Regions from separate parts of the Homo sapiens genome. Here region 2 is linked to region 1. Evidence: promoter capture Hi-C in human tissues and cell types (Jung and others, 2019). All regions are on one chromosome and are shown on one strand. The core of a region is centred on a gene start or on the middle of the fragment in contact, and the rest is flanking DNA. Distances in the headings are between cores, read along the strand shown. Region 1 holds the start of TP53I11 (tumor protein p53 inducible protein 11). Region 2 overlaps PRDM11 (PR/SET domain 11).

What was found. Contacts are between HindIII fragments. The study calls those that stand out against the background at their distance.
Region 2: a fragment that was not itself captured here is called in contact with the fragment with the promoter of TP53I11 in region 1 in 2 of the 25 tissues and cell types used here (heart left ventricle and thymus).

Annotation. Positions count from the first base shown.
Region 1 is chr11:44,949,326-44,952,743 of GRCh38, forward strand. TP53I11 (tumor protein p53 inducible protein 11) reads right to left here and starts at 1,558. Exons shown (of 7, transcript NM_006034.5): 1 at 1,352-1,558. RefSeq lists silencers at 1,328-1,457, 1,488-1,747. The HindIII fragment of the contact is 16,895 bases long and covers 1-3,418 here.
Region 2 is chr11:45,185,957-45,189,297 of GRCh38, forward strand. All of the region lies in intron 4 of PRDM11 (PR/SET domain 11), which reads left to right. Among named protein-coding and RNA genes, the nearest start is that of PRDM11, 41 kb to the left of the region's middle. The HindIII fragment of the contact is 7,766 bases long and covers 1-3,341 here.

The DNA.
Region 1 (3,418 bases), core at 308-2,807:
CCAAGGGACCACATAGTTGGGGTGGGCAGCCCCGGTGACTTCTCCCCGCAGGCCCGCCCCGTCAAGAAGTTTGTTTGAAAGAAACCAATCAGGAAGTGCAGGGTAGTGGGGCGGTGAGGGGGCCTTGGCCAGCCGCTCTGGGCTTTGGAGGAGCCTGGGGGTTCTTGGCCTCCGCGCTGCTCTTGCCCCAGCCTCCATCTCTCCGGCGGAGAAACCCACTCCCCCCGGGCTCCAGGAAGAGGCGGAAGCCCGAGACTGGGTCAGGGCGAAGGAAGGTAGAGCGAGGGGACCCAAGGCGAGCGCCCCGCCCCGCCCCGCCCAGCGGGGCGCGCCGGGGTGGGCGCGGCGTTCTGGCCCTTCCTCCACACAGCCTCCCCCGGGTAGGTGCGAGTGTTCTGCCCACGGCAGGGGCCCTAACCCACCCAGCGCCCGGCCAGTGGCCCCACACTGTACCCTTCCTGCAGATCGCGCGACTTTGGGGAGAGTGGGGGGCGTCTCCACCTGTGCGTCCCCTACCCACCCCCTAACTGGGCTAAGGCGCGGCCTGGGTTTCTGCCCGCCCCTTTCCAGCCTGGGGACGGGGGACTCTCTCAGCCTCGCCCCTCCCCCTGCAATCTGTCCCTGATGTCCCCGCTCCAGACACTCACCCACTTTCTGAGACCCAGGCCTCAGCGCCGGTGTCCCCCGGCGGTGAGCTCCGAGCCGTTAGGCGGCCCCGGGTTCTCCGGCCCAGGGCCCCTGCCCCCAGGCCCCCACCCCAGAAGGTCGGGCCAGACTTGTGGGCAGCGGGAACTCCGCCACCACCTCCGTCCGCGGCCCTGCGGGGGCAAAGACTGGGGGAACTCGCAAGTTTGCGCCGCGCACTCCTCCTGCCGGGAACAATGGCGGGAGGGGGAGGGGACAGAGAACCGAGCGCGGGGGACCGAGTCAGACCCCGGGGAGACAGAAACTGCTTTCGCTCCGTTTCTCTCCTGCTCTGAAGCAGAAAGCTCGAGCCCGAGAGGCAGTGGCCGAGGACGAAATAAGCAGTCCAGGAGGAGGGCGACCGCGGAGCCGGGGGAGAGGGGAAACCGAGTCAGAGGGAGGGGCGGCGAGGGGAGAGCGCGCAGGGGAGACGGAAGGGGCTGCGGGACGGCGCCTTGGGGAGCTGGGGAGGCGACCCCCTGGGGTCCCAGCGGGCTCAGCGGGTGCCGAGATGTCCCGGGGCGCCCGGTTAGCGCGCGCGGGGTCCCGGCCGCCCCTCTGCGGTCCCGTCGGCCGCAGGAGCCCCGCTGGGTTGCGCTGCGCAGGCGGCGGGCGGCGGGAGGGGAAAGTCCGCGGCTCGGAAGCGGCGGCGGGGAGCAGAACTTACGGGCCTCGCGCGTGCCGGCGCTGGGCTACGTGGAGCTGATGCCAGGCGGAGGCTCCGGGCTCGGACGCCTCACATCGCGCCGCCCGTGCCGGGCCGGGCAGTGCAGGGCAGGGCAGGGCAGGGCAGGGCAGGACAGGGCAGGGCAGGGCAGGGCCGGGCCGGCTGGACTGCGCGCGGCGCCCTGCGCGGCCGGGGCTTACCGAGTCTGGCGGCCCGCGCTGGTCCCTCCTCTCGGTTCCGCGCACAAGCCAATGGCGCGCCGTCCCCTCCCACGCGCCGGGCTGCCTCGCCCCCAGGGTGGCCGCCGGGGCGGGCGGGATGGGGGTTGGCGGGGAAACCAGGCTCCCGGCTCCCCCGCGAGGCTCTCCCGGGGGCCGCCTGCAGGGGGCGCACGCGCGCCCGAGAGAAGGCGCCGGGGGAGGAAGCCGCGCGGGGAGACCCTGGCGTGGCCCGCGCCGCCCAGGATGACTTTCCTGGCAAGTTCTGCAGACGGTGCCCCTTTCTTGGGACGATCAACGTAGATGGGCAAACCACACCATCTTAAATAGCCTTGCGGTGTCTCCCGGGCCCAGGCCGGTGCCTGAAATGGAAGGGACTGCTTTGGCTGGCGGTGATACCCAAGTGTGTAATAACACAGTCACGACAATAGTCACCGTTTGCTGCGCACTCTCTGATGCCAGACACCATATGCTAAAGGAGTTACAAGTATTAACTCATTTGATTTTCACAGCAACCCATAAGGGCGCTGTGCTTAGTCCCATTTTACAGGCCATGGTCGTTAAAGTTTGAGTTCACTCAGCCTTCAGGCTTCCAGCCTAGGCCCACCCTTCTCTCTCCCTGCTTGGTGTGACTTGGCCAAATAACATGACCCCACTGTCACTACGGCCACCTTCTTCATACTCCACCCTAAAATCCAGCCTCAGAGATGCTGCTGTCAGTTGCGCTGTCAGGAGGCTAGGATCTTATCTGGGGCTCTAGGACGCTTGTTGGCGCTACAGTTGTCAAACCTTTTGTCTCTACACATCCTATGGGGGGCTGGGGTGAGGATGAGGGTTGGGGGTCATGGAGGCTCTCTGGTGGCGTGTCAACCTGAGAGAACCAGGCTCCTACAGACAAGGCCCCACCCCCAAATTCTGGGCTCCTTCAACCCCTTATGGTGGGAAAATAATGTGCTCTCTCCCACCCCAACCCCCACCACCCTGTGCTCTCCTTAGAGAAATGCCTGGATCTCTTTCATCTGATCTGATGGTCACAGTGGGCCAGGAACCGGGGTGGGGGGCTGCGGGAAAAGGAAGGCAAGGCTGATGACATGCTCCATTTCACAAGTAAATAAGACAGAAAGAGGTGAGTGGCTGCCTCAGGCATCTAGCTAGGTGGGCATTCTGACTCCAGGTCTCGGTTCTGTCTGCACCAGTTCCTTAACGGTTAATAGAGCAGGCTCTGGAACCAGATCACCTAGGTTCAAATCCTGACTCTGCCTTTTAGTGCCTGTGTGGCCTTGGACAAAGTAAGTCACCTAGAGCAACCAATAGTAAGAACCGGCTATGGTTGCTGTAGAGATTTAGAGTTAATAGGAGCTGCTCATGTTTACTGTGCATGGACTCTGTGCCATGCAGGCTCCCACTGTCCTCACCAGAGCTGGGATTGGGCAGGAGAGTCTGTGCCCTTGGCAAGGAAGTAAACAGAACAGTCCTTGGTTCATAGTAAGTGCTCAGTGAATATAAACTGTCCTGATTACTAAGGTAGATAAACTCTGATGCCCCAGTGCCACTGACACTGCCCCCAGCCAAACACCTAGACAGTGATAGCCAATAATGAATGAATCAATCAATCAATCAAAGTATGTGACTCTAGATGAGGATTATTTTTAAGGTGTGTTGGGTGGAGCCATCTGACTCAAGGCTCTATAGTAATTTCTGCAACAACTCAGTCTCACCTCACTGCCTTTACAGAGCTGGGCCAAGCTGGGTTGATGAATTCATTTGTCACTCCCTCTTCTGCCTTTCTGGCACTCAGGGCTCTGGATTGCTGAAGGGAGGGCCCCCAGCGTCATTCATGTGCAATGTC
Region 2 (3,341 bases), core at 231-2,730, 240 kb after region 1:
GATGCTGCTCTGCTGGCCTTCGAGATAGAGTAAGGAGCCGGGAGTCAAGGGATGCAGGCAGCTTCTGGAAGCCAGAAAAGTCAAAGAAACACATTAATTCCCAGAGCTTCCTGAAAGAATGTGGCCCTGCCAACACCTTGATTGTAGGACTTCTGACCTCTAGAACTATAAGGTAATACATGTGTGTTGTTTTAAGCCACTGTGGTTTTGGCAGTTTATTGGCAATTTATTACAGGAGCAACAGGGAACTCATATAGGAGGCTTTTATGTTTGTGGGGGGACATCTACTAAAATATGCAGGGAGGTGGATTGAGGTGGCCTGAAATCGAGGAGATCAGAGAAGGTGAGTTCTGCTTGGGATGAGTAGAGTTCCTGGTGCCCGTGAGATGCTCAGGGGAGCTGTCCAGAGCACTCTGGTGTGTGTGGCTCTGCAGTAGAGAGATGCTGGGATGACAGGGAAAACTAAGTATATAAATTAATGCAGCTGAAGCCCGGAGAAGGGAGGGCATTTCCTACAGAAAAGGTGCTTGGGGAGGAGAGAAGAGGCATTTCCTTTGGAATATGAGTTTGAGGAATCCTTGGAGGGAGAGGAGTTGAGGAGGCATGGAGCAGTAGGAGGAGACAGTAGGAAGTCTCCTTGGCCCCCTTGGCAGGAGCAGTCTCATGGGCGGAAGCCAGATTGCCATGGATTAAGGTGTCAGTGGGAGGTGAGGAAAGGGAACTAGCAAGGGTGCATGGCTTGTTTTAAAAGTCTGGTTGCCCACTGAGCAATTATTATATGCCAGGTGCATACTGGACACCTCTGGCATCTCATACTCTTCCTCGAAACAGTCCATAGGGTGGGGGTTGCTGCCCCTCTTGTTCTGACGAGGAAACACAGGACTCCCACAGCTGGTCCACAGTAGACCTTGGGTTCCTTCAAAGATAGTGTCCCTCCACCATGTGAGGACTTCCCTTATTGGGAGACATTGCTAATGGGGTGGAGCAGTTAATAGCTACCCTGAGCCAGTTTTGGTTATGTGTCCAGGTTCAACCCAACCTCACATACACAGAGCAACTCCAGAGCACTAGGTCCTGAGCAGGGAGCTCTGGGGATAACAGGGCTGCGTGAGGTTTGCTGTCTGTTCTTATGGAGCCTGTGGTTCAGTTATGAGGAGCAGGGGCCATGGTGGATAGGAGGGGAGGAAGCTTATTCCCAACCAAGTAATACAGAGGCAGAGTATTGCTTGGTGATCGCAGTGCTGCAGAGGGCTGTAGCAGTAGGGAGAGGGGGATTGGTTTCAACAGGGCAGATTGGAGATGGATCTTGTCTTGAAGGATGGATAGACGTTCAACAGAGGAAGCCTATGGCTTCACAGCCTATTGGAAAATTGCAGGAGAAAAAATCTAAGACTGTGCCCAAGGAATGGCTATTAGGATCCCTTTCTGCAGCTGCTAGAGTCTGTACCTTGGGACAGCCCAGCCATGGAAAGTTGAGAATCTTTAAAGCAGATGAACTTTCCCAGGTTGGCTGCCTGGCACAGGTCTACGGTGAGAAGAAAGGAGGAATAGAAGGCCCTGGTGTTTGCAACCTGGTTCTAGACTAGCTCCACCAGTCACGAGTAGGCGTGGCCCCAGTTCAGGAGGTGGGACTGGTGGCCTGGAGGTTATTCCCTCTGAGGTTTCTTCCTAGGGCCTTAGCTGCAGCCAGCAGCCAGCAGCCAGCAGCCAGCAGATGGGCACAGGGAGGCAGTGGTTAGAGGCTGCAAGGCCATATGGGGGCTTTGACCTTTGGGAACCCAAGAGGTGAGAGACATTGAAGGCCTAGAGCCACCAGATGCTTAAAGTGGCTCAAGAAAAGTTCGTGTGTGTGTGTGTGTGTGTGTGTGTGTGTGTGTATGTGTGTGTTGGGCATGGGTTTTTGGCCTCCACTGGGGAAAAGCAGGCGTGAAGAACGGCCCTGCCTGCTCTGCTGATGGGTAGGCCAAATGGTGGGAGAGTACGGGGAAGGTGGGGTGAACAGTGGTGCTGATTTTTGGACCAAGATCTAGAAGCCCCATATCCTAAATAAACTGCCCTCATTTGTCAAGTCCTGTCCCAAAGCCATACTGGATATCATCTTCTTTGGACCTTCTGCCTGCCTGCAAAAGCTCTGGCCCCCATTCAGCACAACACATTTCCCTCCACACTCCCTCCCTCAGTATATGCACTCTACTCTGTAGAAATGATGGTGGTGGTCATGACAAGCATAGCTGTTAATGTTTATTGAGCACTTACTATGTGTCTGGGTCTGTGCTCAGTGCTTTATAGCATAATCTCATCTGATCCTAACAACGCTCCTGTGACATAGGTATTATTCCATCCATTGCACAGCTGAGAAAACTGAGGCCTGGAGAGGATGAGTCATTCTGCACAAAGCTAAACAGCTGGTGAGTCACTGAGCTGGGGTTCAAACCTGTGCAGTCTGACTCCAGAACCTACCCTCTCATTCCGCCTCTTGGCCCTCTAGCCTCCCTTACTTAGCACGCCTCTTCTTACCTCCTTGCCTGGGTAGACTCTATTCTACTCATTCTTCCTGCCCAGCACAAGTTCCCTCTTTGTCTTCGCTTAACCTGGAGGAAAGCTGGCCTGACTTTGGGCAGAGTGGTACAAGGCATGGGCCTGGGTCATAATGGACCGAATGGCCATTTCCACTCCACAACTCTCCTTCGTGGCCTGGCTGACTTGGCAGGAGTTGGACACTCACCTCTGCCTGTCTAGGAAAGACATGCCCCTTGCTCTGCTTTTTCATCCTATTGGAAATTATAAATGCTGTGATTCATTGCCAAGATCACCCAGGCTACCCTCAGACACTGCAGGCCAGGAACCATGCTGCTGGCACGAGGCATTTGGGGGTGCTGCGCAGCCATGTGGTTTGGTAAAGAGGCAGAAGACAGAGGAAGCCAACATGGGATTTTTTGTTTGTTTGTTTTTTTGTTTGTTTGAGATGGAGTTTTGCTCTCGTTACCCAGGCTGGAGTGCAGTGGTACGATCTCAGCTCACCGCAACCTCTGCCTCCTGGGTTCAAGCAATTCTCCTGCCTCAGCCTCCCTAGTAGCTGGGATTACAGGCATGCGCCACCACATCCAGCTAATTTTGTATTTTTAGTAGAGACGGGGTTTCTCCATGTTGGCCAGGCTGGTCTTGAACTCCCGACCTCAAGTGATCCGCCCACCTCAGCCTCCCAAAGTGCTGGGATTACAGGCTTGAGCCACCACACCCGGCCGCGAGCACAGGGTTTCTATGTAAGTTTTTCGTTCAGACCTTGGCTTGTTCCAGAAGGGATTTAGGGTAGCCTAGCAGTATACATAAAATATACCACA